2 separate regions of the Homo sapiens genome follow, and region 1 is linked to region 2. Evidence: promoter capture Hi-C in human tissues and cell types (Jung and others, 2019). All regions are on one chromosome and are shown on one strand. Each heading gives the region's core, a stretch centred on a gene start or on the middle of the fragment in contact. The rest is flanking DNA. Distances are from core to core; before and after follow the strand shown. Region 1 has its middle 3.2 kb from the start of MTUS2. Region 2 holds the start of FLT3 (fms related receptor tyrosine kinase 3).

Region 1 (5,332 bases), core at 1,532-4,031, 720 kb before region 2:
GCCCCCGCCCCCGCCCCAGCTCCCGCCTCAGCCCCAGCCCCAGCTCCAGCCCCAGACCCAGACCCAGACCCAGCCTCCGCAGGCGGTGGGCGCGGCGCGGGCCGCTGCCCGCTGCGCGGCTGGTCACCGTGGTGCCCTAGCATCGGACCCCAGGAGAAAGGAGTAAGAATGAGTTGGCCGTTCCAGGGCAGGCCTCCAGGAATGGGTTCCGCTGTTTTCCGCTCAGAACAGAAGAGGGAGCCGCTTCGAATTAGGCGCAGCAGGAGGCATTGGGGTTCAGCATCGGGAAGAACTTTGGAGGACGCTAGGGTGCCTGATTCATAGGAGCCCAAAGCCAGTCTCTGAAAAGATTTGCGCAAAAGGCAGGCGTTTCTTTCTAGAAGCAAGCTTATTTCTATGTTTAATGAGCACCAAATGTGCCTCCCCACTGTCCGAGGGGTTCCAGCGAGCCTTGACTGCTCTTATGGTAAGGTAAATAGATTAATTAATGATTTCTCAAAGACCTTTTTCCAGTCCTACCTGAAATGCTCAGACTCCCTCACGCGGTGCACCTGGAGGTTTGAAAAGGCAAGCGAAACCAGAGGACTTCTGCAGACTGATTCAAACAGCAATGGAATAAACATTTACCATTATAAAGATGAAACGATGTTGCTGGTCTTTGCACTATTTAGGTTGGCGTTTTTTGTTTTTAGGGGATGTCTTTCCAAACCACTGTGTTAACCAATACTTTATGACAGTTAATTTTTTTTTTTAACCAACTGGACTACTTGGTGAAGGGAAATCATGAAATGGCACTTTTTTTTTTCAGACCACTGTCTTTAAAAATTATTCCAGAAGCTCTCCCTTCTCCCCTGGAAGAATCTGGGGCAAATTTCATAGCTTTTCCTGTCACTTTCAGGTGTTCATAAACAGTCAGATTTGCTGATAATAAAAAGTCCAGCCCAATCCAAATCAAAACTTTAATCGCAATCCATTCAAGCCTTCCCCACTAGCCTCCCACCACCCACCAGACCCCAACCTGACCCAAGCTCAGAAGCCTGCAAGGAGGAGGAAAACGACCTTCGCTTCCTGCTTCTGTGTTCTCCCCAGCTAGCTCTGTGAAGACGGGTTCCACCGCCGGGCACGGAGGCTCACGCTTGTAATCCCAGCACTTTGGGAGGCTGAGGCCGGTGGATTACTTGAGGTCAGGAGTTCGAGACCAGCCTGGCCAACATGGTGAAACCCTGTCTCTACTAAAAATACAAAAATTAGCTGGGTGTGGTGGCGTGCACCTGCAATTCCATCTCCTCAGGAGAATTGCTTGAACCTGGGAGGTGGAAGTTGCAATGAGCCGAGATCATGCCACTGCACTCCAACTGGGCGACAGAGCAAGCCTCTGTCAAAAAAAGAAGCCGGATGCGGTGGCTCACGCCTATAATCTCAGCACTTTGGGAGGCCGAGGTGGATGAATCACGAGGTCAAGAGATCGAGACCATCCTGGCCAACGTGGTGAAACCCCGTCTCTATGAAAAATACAAAAAGTTTAGCTGGACATGGTGCCACATGCCTCTAGGCTCCTCTACTCGGAGGCTGAGGCAGGAGAATCGCTTGAACCCGGGAGGTGGAGGTTGCAGTTCACGGAGATCGCTCCACTGCACTCCAGCCTGGCGACAGAGCGAGATCCGTTTCAAAAAAAAAAAAAACACTGGTTTCTCAAGTTGGGCAGGGTGGGGTTCTGACCCTGCAACTTCAGCCTCAGCTTCACTGGTGGTCAGCCTCATTCAGGCCCTCTGCAAGGCACCATGCCCTGGCAGTCAGTCCCAGCTACCTTCCACCACGTGCGTGCTGACCCACGGACACCAACTGGCATTTGGCCCATCACGCTATAGAAGTGCAGGCCACTGTCACTGCAGTTCTCTTTTCTTCTTCTCTGGTCACAGGTAACTCTGACCGGCCTCTTTCCTTGAAGCTTCTCAGCCATCTCTGGGTTCATGCATGTCCCCACACTCCAGGTGACACATGCCAGGCTCTCCAAGTAGTTCTTTGGAAGCATGCCTTTCTTTGCATGAAGTGGGTGGGTCCTCCTTCTCCCTGTCAGCACCGTGTCGTTCTCATCTTCTCCCTTGATTGCTCTCTCCTTTCCTTCAATTTGGTCTGAAGGTGGCAGAACCCCAACTTAGCAAATCCTACAAAGATGGTCCAATACCTCCATTTATATGGATTTATGTGTGGGGATACCTATCTGTGTGGTGGCATGGAGGGAGGTGATCCCCTGAGATCTTGGAAGCTTGAGCAACTGACAGCCTTCAGCTGTCACACATTTGGATCCACCACAGAGCTCATACCAAGGTCACACATTCCCCAGCTGTTTCCAGCTCACAACGGAACATGGTGAGAGCGCTAGAGCTATGCCCTTTCTGCCTCTAGTGGGCAGTCTTTGCTCTGGAATTCCTACCACCCTACCAGGGCTTTCTCAGAATGTGCTGCAGTCTGGAGCTCTTCCTACCCAATCTTCTTCCCTTCCCTCTCTCCATTCACAAGTGTCAGACCTGTATTGCAGTCAGAAGGCACTCCTCACCTGCATGCCAGGCTCCTTCTCCCTCCTGCACTATCCTGCACAGGTGTTTTCTTTAAAATATTTTGGCACATCTAATCCTATCTTGACATCTGCTTTTCAGAGGTCCCAAACTGTCATAGTTATCTATTGGCCCACCTGGCAGCATTCCAAGATAAGTCTTATTTTAACAGTTGGTTATGCTGTATTTAGAAACTGTGAAAAGAACAATGGCAAAATCATGGAGCCAACCTGAATGTCAATGAACAGTTGACTGGATAAAGAAGATGTGGTCCATATATTAATGCATCATGGAATATTATGCAGCCATCAAAAAGAATGAAATCATGTCTCTTGCAGTGACATGGGCTGGAGCTGGAGGCCATTATCCTAAGTGAAGTAATTCAGAAACAGAAAACCAAGTACCACACATTCTCACTTATAAGTGGGAGCTAAACAATGAGTACACATGGACATAAAGATGGAAATAATAGACACTGGGTCACCAAAAGAGGGGAGGGTGGGCAGGGGGCGAGAGCTGAAAAATTACCTATGGGGTACAGTGTTCACTGTTTGGGTAATGGGTACACTAGAAGCCCAATCTCCAGTATGCTCATGTAACAAACAGGCACATGTACCCCCTGAATCTAAAATAAAATTAATTTTTTTTGAGATGGTGTTTCACTCTGTCACCCAGGCTGGAGTGCAGTGGCACAATCTCAGCTCGCCACAACCTCCACCTCCAGGTTCAAGTTATTATCCTGCCTCCGCCTCCCGAGTAGCTGGGATTACAGGTGCATGCCACCATATCCAGGCTAATTTTTGTATTTTTAGTTAAGATGGGTTTTCACCATGTTGGCAAGGCTGTTCTCGAACTCCTGACCCCAAGTGATCCGCCCGCCTCAGCCTCCCAAAGTACTGGGATTACAGGCATGAACCACCGCGCCCAGCCAAATTAAATTAAAAAAAAAAAAAGCTGTGAAAGGAAGAGTAGAATGTTCTCTTGAATTAAATATATATATATATATATATATATATATATATATATATATGATCAGCAAGTATCATAGTGTATCAAGTATCGTAGTGTAGATTCCTTCCCAAAGCAGAGACTGGTAGAATGACTTGGATACAGATAGTTAATTGTTATTGTTTTTTGTTTGTTTGTTTGTTTTTTGAGGCAGAGTCTTGCTCTGTTGCCCAGACTGAAGTGCAGTGGTGCAATATCGGCTCACTGCAAACTCCACCTCCCGGCTTCAAGTTATTCTCCTTCCTCAGCCTCCTGAGTAGCTGGGATTATAGGCGCCCGCCGCCGTGCCCGGCTAATATTTGTATTTTTAGTAGAGATGGGGTTTCACCACGTTGGCCAGAATGGTCTCGAACTCCTCACCTCGTGATCCACACACCTCAGCCTCTCAATCCTGCTGGGATTACGGGTGTGAGCCACCACGCCCAGCTAGATAGTTTATTTTTGAAGGTGATCTCAGGAAGCAGGAATGATGAAATTGAGATGTTAAGACAGAGAAGTATGAAAGGCAACTTAAAAGTATATTCTCAAGGCCACTGTTATATGTAACAGGCACACAAGGACATAATACCACTTGGATCTCTGAGGAGCTTACAATGGTCATTTCAAAGACACAGGGCCGAGCATTTACCCTCTGGGCTCCTGTTCTCCATTGATTGGAATTGCCTGTGGAGCTTTAACTCCCAAAGGCGCCTAGTGCTTTAGAAAAGGCTCTAGGCAGAGAATCAGAGTGACCCATAGCCGCATCCTTGAGATAAGACATTGTCAACTCACAGGGAGCACCCATCAGAACTATGGCTGAGAGGGAGCCAAGGAGATGTGCAGGGCAGCACAGGTGTCTGCTGGAGCCTTTTCCCAGGGCCTTACTAGACTGAGGAGCATGTGGGTAGAACAGAGGCATCTGCCTTGTGAAATTCCAAAATGATGAAATGCCAGTGGGAAAAGCCTGAGGAAGAAAGAATAGAGTGGCGTTTGCAAGTCATGAATAACACTTGGGTAGCCAACTGATGTACCAGAGAGCAAGGTAGGTATTAGGGGTCAGGGCCTCTGGGAAGGGATGGGAGCCAGGATTGGACAGAGGGAGAGTTTGAACCATGATTCAAGTCCAACAAAGCCGCTGTCCTAACCACAAGAAGTCCTGGAGCACATACAGAGTGGTGTGCTGAGCCTGCTCCTACCAGCTCCTGAGCATCACTTGTTAAATTTTTGTGAATTGGTTGTTAAAACAGCCATTATTAAAGATTAAATTATATAAACCTACAATTACATTTATTTATTGAAAACAAAGTGAATACTCAAAACTCATCCTTCCCTAATTACTACATGAGCAGTAAAGTACACTGTTGAGGTTTTTTTGTTTTTCTTTTTTTAATTGAGACCGGGTCTTGCTATATTGCTCAGTCTGCTCCCGAACTCCTGATCTCAAGCGATCCTCCCACCTGTGCCTCCCAAAGTACTGGGATTACAGGTGTAAGCCACCTCCCCCTGGCCAGTGTTGAGTTTATTTACCACTGGCATAGCTGTATGATGGAAATACTATGTAGTAGTGTACTATTTTGCATCTATTCCCAACTTCACATTTAGTGATACTACTTTGGTAGCTTGAAACCATCTATGGAGGATGTATTTTCACCACAGAAATTAGCAAACACTGCAAATCAGGATGTTTTCCTTAAAGGAGCCCGTTATTAAACATTTACATGCACACTGCTACATGTAGGACTCATTCAGAATTGTCCCAGGGTGGGCTGAATGGTTAAGGTCTCTATGTC
Region 2 (5,197 bases), core at 1,329-3,828:
GCCACCACGCCTGGCTAATTTTTTGTATTTTTAGTAGAGACAGGTTTCACCATCTTTGCCAGGCTGGTCTTGAACTCCTGACCTCGTGATCCACCTGCCTTAGCTTCCCAAAGTGCTGGGATTACAGGCATGAGCCACTACGCCCGGCGAAGACCAAGTCTTGCTCTGTTGCCCAGGCTGGAGTGCAGTGGCATGATCTCAGTTCACTGCAACATCTGCTTCCTGGGTTCAAGCAATTCCCCTGCCTCAGCCTCCCAAGTAGCTACGACTACAGTGCCACCATGCCCAGCTAATTTTTGTATTTTTGTTAGAGATGGGGTTTCACCATGTTGGTCAGGCTGGTCTCCAACTCCTGACCTCAAATGATCCACCCGCTTTGGCCTCCCAAAGCGCTGGGATTGCAGGCATGAGCCACAGCGCCCAGCCAATCAGTTTCCTTTAAGACAGTAATTGAGCTTTAAATAGAAGGTAGTGTGTTAGGTCTTGGCCATTGGAAGCTCGCTTTTCTCCCCATAACCAGCCTGTTTCATTGCTTTATCTCCTCATGTTTCACTTATTTCAGGCCATCTTCCTTCACTTCTGTTTCTGACCTAAGGTAGACACAACACTCTTTAAAAAAATTTTTAAACCCCCAGCAGCTACACAAAAACTTAAAAAATTTAAAATTGAGGTAAAATACACATACATAAAATTTACCATCTTAACTTTTTGTTTTTGTTTTTGTTTTTGAGACAGAGTCTCACTCTGTCACCCAGGCTGGAGTGCAGTGGTGTGATCTCAGCTCACTGCAGCCTCTGCCTCCCGGGTTCCAGTGATTCTCCTGCCTCAACCTCCCAGGTAGCTGGGATTACAGGCATGCGCCACTACGCCTGGCTAATTGTTGCATTTTTGTAGAGATGGGGTTTCACCATGTTGGCTAGGCTGGTCTCGAACTGCTGACCTCAGGTGATCTGCCCACCTCGGCCTCCCAAAGTGCTAGGATTACAGGCATGAGCCACCGCACCCAGCCTTAGCCATTTTTAAGTGTACAGTTTAGTAGCGTTAAGTACATTCACATTGTTGTGCAACCAGTCTCCAGAACTCTGCTCATCTTGCAAAACTGAAACTCTGTATCCATTAAACACTGGCTCCCCATTTCCCCCTGCCCCCAGCCCATGGTAACCACCATTTAACTTTCTGTCTTTATGAATTTGTAATGGGATACAGTATTGTATTTTTTGGGACTAGCTTATTTCACTTAGCATAATGTCAAGATTCATCCATATTTTAGCTGTATCAGAATTTCCCTCCTCTTTAAAGCTGAAAAATACTCAGTCGTATGTATATACTGCATTTTTGTTTATCATTCATCTGTTGTGGACATGGGTTACTTCTGCCTTTTGACTACTGTGAATAATGCTGCTTTCAACACGGGTGTACAGACATCTCTTCAAGACCCTGCTTTCAATTCTTTTGGCTACATGGCCAGAAATGGAATTGTTGGACCGTATTTTTTTTAATTTTTTGAGAAACCTCTATAGTGTTTTCCATAGTGGCTGCACCATGGTAGACACTTCTAAAGTTTCTGCCATACCCTAGGGGAAAGAATTATTGTACTGTAGACAACATCTAAGGAAAAGAACTGTATGGCCAAGAGTAAACAGTCAATTTTCATGCTTTATTAGAAAATAATTAAAATAATTAAGAGCGTGGAATTCCTAGAATTGGGAGAGACATTATGAACCATTTGGTCCATCCCTTTCCTTTACGATGAGTAAACAGAGGTTTGTGGAGGTCAAACGGCTAGTTAAGTAAGGGAAGAACCAGAACTGGCATCCAGAGCTTTCCAATCCTCAACTTATTGCAAAGAAAATAATAATAATTTTCAACTCGAAAAATTATGCGATGAAGAACAAGAACTATTGAGCGGATGATTCGCAACATCCTCTGGGATGTATTTTCTGTGTGTTTTGTTTTGAAGGCTGTTTGTTAACCTCCCTAATTGCCTTGGTTGACATTGAAACCCTGCCTGTTTTTCTTGATCCCGCCGCTGACTGGGTCCTGAGCATCCTAGGAGATGGAGGCAGAGACAAAGGAAATCAGTCCACAATTAAGAATGGAATGGTTCTTAATGGAATGCTCGCCTGTGCGCTGGCGGGAGTTGCCAGCGTGCCGAGCGGATTCAGCGCCTTTCTCAGGGCCTCAAAGATCCCAGCGCACTAGGAGGGTGGTTTGTGGCTCCCTGCAGTCCCCACGCCCCGGATCCAAACGACAGAGTTCGGGGACTCACAGGGGCAGCAAGGCGGCAGAGCCGCGGAGCCAGTGCAACTTCTCCGGCGGGACCGCGCCCAATCTTCCCCGCCGCAGTCGGGGAGCCCCGGGGGCCGCCGAGCACAGGCTGCGGACCGCGGCGGGCACGTGGGCTCGGCTGCAGCGCTGCGCCAGGCACCGGCTGCTCGGCTCTGCCCAACCTCTCCGCTCCCGCCTCGGTCCCTGCCTCTGGGGAGAGGGTTCCTCCCCCCTTCCACTTTGCACCAGTCCGAGGGAATTTGCGGTCGGTGACGCGCATCCTTAAGAGAGCCACCTGCAGCGCGAGGCGCGCCGCTCCAGGCGGCATCGCAGGGCTGGGCCGGCGCGGCCTGGGGACCCCGGGCTCCGGAGGCCATGCCGGCGTTGGCGCGCGACGGCGGCCAGCTGCCGCTGCTCGGTAAGGCCCCGCTCGCTCGCTCGCAGCCCCTCGCGGTCCCTCAGCCCCCACCCCGCAGTGTGGACCCGGGCGCGCGCCTCCTCCGGCCCAGCCGCCTCGCTCCTCCCCGCGCTCGCTCCTTCCATTGCCTCCCGCGCCCCTCCCCTCTTTCGCGCCCTCCGGACTCGCCCACTACTTGCCTGCGGCCCCGGCGTTTCCCACCCCGCGTCCTCTTCCCTCTTCTCCGAAGTCTCTCCTCTGGCTCGGGCCGCGGTCCCGAGTGGCGGCCCGGACTTCGCAGACGGCCTCGCCGAGGCGCTGCGCCGGGTCTGGGGCAGCTCGGCCCGCGCGCTCGGGTGCTGGGCCGTCCGTGGGAGTCTGCGGCCGCGAACTCGGCGCCAGGTGGCCAAGGACCTCTCCTGGCCCGGCCCTTGGATACTGTAGACACCTGGGTGTCGTCTTTAACTCTTCTTTTGAGGTTTTGATTTATGGAGGGAACTCTGATGGGAAAATGCGTCCGCGTTCTCCCCTAGAGCGAGTCATCCTCAATAACGATACCCCCCAGCCCCGCCGAATTTTGGTTGGATCAACGAATAGTTTACCTAGGAAATATTATGCAAACAGATTTACATATTAAAATACTAGCTGTCCCTTTCTTCTAGTCTCTTCTTATCCTGGCATAAACCCCAAAGGGGTTTTCAAGGACTCCGAGGACTGTCCCCAAAGAATCTGCTGGGTAGCATAGTTGTTATTGAAAAAAAAAATCTTCCCATCGGTTCGCGTCAGCTTTCTATTTGGAAAGATGAGAGGACTGAATCGAATTTGGGTTGAAGGCGACAGAGTTCTGGGTGCCCGGCAGCTCCGGTCCCTGTCCTAGGTCTGCAACCTTGGGACTGACACTCACCTCCCCCGGCCTCCGCGTCCTCATCTGTGCAGTGAGGGAGTCCGTCCGAGTCCCCTTCAGCTCTGAAATGCTAGGACTTGAAGTCTCTGTGGTAAATAGAGAAAATGCTTGCAATATAGAAGTGCAGGAATTATATCCAATAGCTTTTGTTACAAATAATTCTGAAATATAAAAAGTAAAAAATGGAAATCGGGGGAAAAGAGTTGAAAAACAAAGACATTTTAGTTCTTAAATAGTTATCTTTACTAGTTAGTAAATCTGTAATTTCAAATGTGTAGTACAATATGTTTTCCAGATTCCGTTAATACAAAATGTTAGCTTTCTATTATGTATGATATTAAGTAGTAAGTGCATTTTTCAGAAGCATAATGGGCTTTCTAAAGGTATAAGCATCAATACTTGCAACGATATTTAAGCTGCATGGAATTCTTTTCTATTTAGGAAAGAATTCAGAAATTTCTATGTCTCTCTCTCCAGATATTTCTAAATGAAGTATAATTGGCACACAGTAAATATGCACACATCTTAAGAGTACAATTTCATTAGTTTTCACATATGTACGTGCCCAAATAACCACGATCAGACTGAGATATAGAGCAATTCTAGCTCCACCCTCTCTGTCAGTACCCCCTCCCCAGGTAGCCACTATTCTGACTTCTGATGCCATGGATTGCTTTTGCCTATGTTTGAACTTCATGTAAACCAAACCATCATCGTGTGCTCTTTTATGTCCACCTTCTTTTACTCAACATTATAATAATAAGATTCAACCTTGTTCTCTGTAGCAGTGTTTTTTTTTTTAATTGCTGGTACCATTCCGTGGTATGAATAGATCTTATAATTTATTTTATCCATTATGTTCACGAAGCACATGGAAGTTGTTCCAATTTTGTGTAATTATGCATAGCACTGCTGTGAACATTGTTTTATATATGGTGGACATAAACACCAGTATAAAGGATTATGCCCACAAGTAGAATTCCTGGATCATAGGGAAGGGATATGTTCAGGTTTGGTAGATACCGTCAAACGGTTTTCCACAGTGGTTACACCAATTTCCACTCCCACTAGCAGTGTATGGCAGTTCCAGTTCCTCACATCTTTGCCAATACTTTGTATTATGGATTTTCTTGAATAAAGAAGGATAAAGTGAGAAGCTTAAACATGAGAACTTTAAAATGGTTAATAGCCTTAAATTCTTTGAATTAGAACATGGGATCCCAATTTCCCTTATATTGTAAACACTACTTTTTTTTTTTTTTTTTTTTTTGAGACGGAGTCTTGCTCTGTCACCCAGGCTGGAGTGTAGTGGCGCGATCTCAGCTCACTGCAACCTCCGCCTCCCAGGTTCAAGCGATTCTCCTGCCTCAGCCTCCTGAGTAGCTGGGATTACAGGTGCGTGCCACCGCACCCAGCTAATTTTTGTATTTTTAGTAGAGACGAGGTTTCACCATGTTGGCCAGGCTGGTCTCGAACTCCTGACCTTAGGCGATCCACCCACCTCAGCCTCCCAAAGCGCTGGGATTACAGGTATGAGCCACCACACCCGGCCATGCCCAGACTTCTATTCATCATTTATGAATAATGATGAAGCTTTCTAAGTGGCATTTGAAGGAGAGGAACATGTT

Evidence for each region. The method cuts DNA at HindIII sites, captures the fragments that hold promoters and counts their contacts. A contact is called where the count stands out against the background at its distance.
Region 1: a fragment that was not itself captured here is called in contact with the fragment with the promoter of FLT3 in region 2 in 1 of the 25 tissues and cell types used here (spleen).

The regions. Positions count from the first base shown.
Region 1 is chr13:28,814,460-28,819,791 of GRCh38, reverse strand. No RefSeq gene overlaps it. Among named protein-coding and RNA genes, the nearest start is that of MTUS2, 3.2 kb to the left of the region's middle. The HindIII fragment of the contact is 3,226 bases long and covers 1,169-4,394 here.
Region 2 is chr13:28,097,957-28,103,153 of GRCh38, reverse strand. FLT3 (fms related receptor tyrosine kinase 3) reads left to right here and starts at 2,578. Exons shown (of 24, transcript NM_004119.3): 1 at 2,578-2,686. The coding sequence starts at 2,644. RefSeq lists an enhancer at 2,165-2,294 and silencers at 2,405-2,464, 2,585-2,744. The HindIII fragment of the contact is 18,739 bases long and covers 1-4,944 here.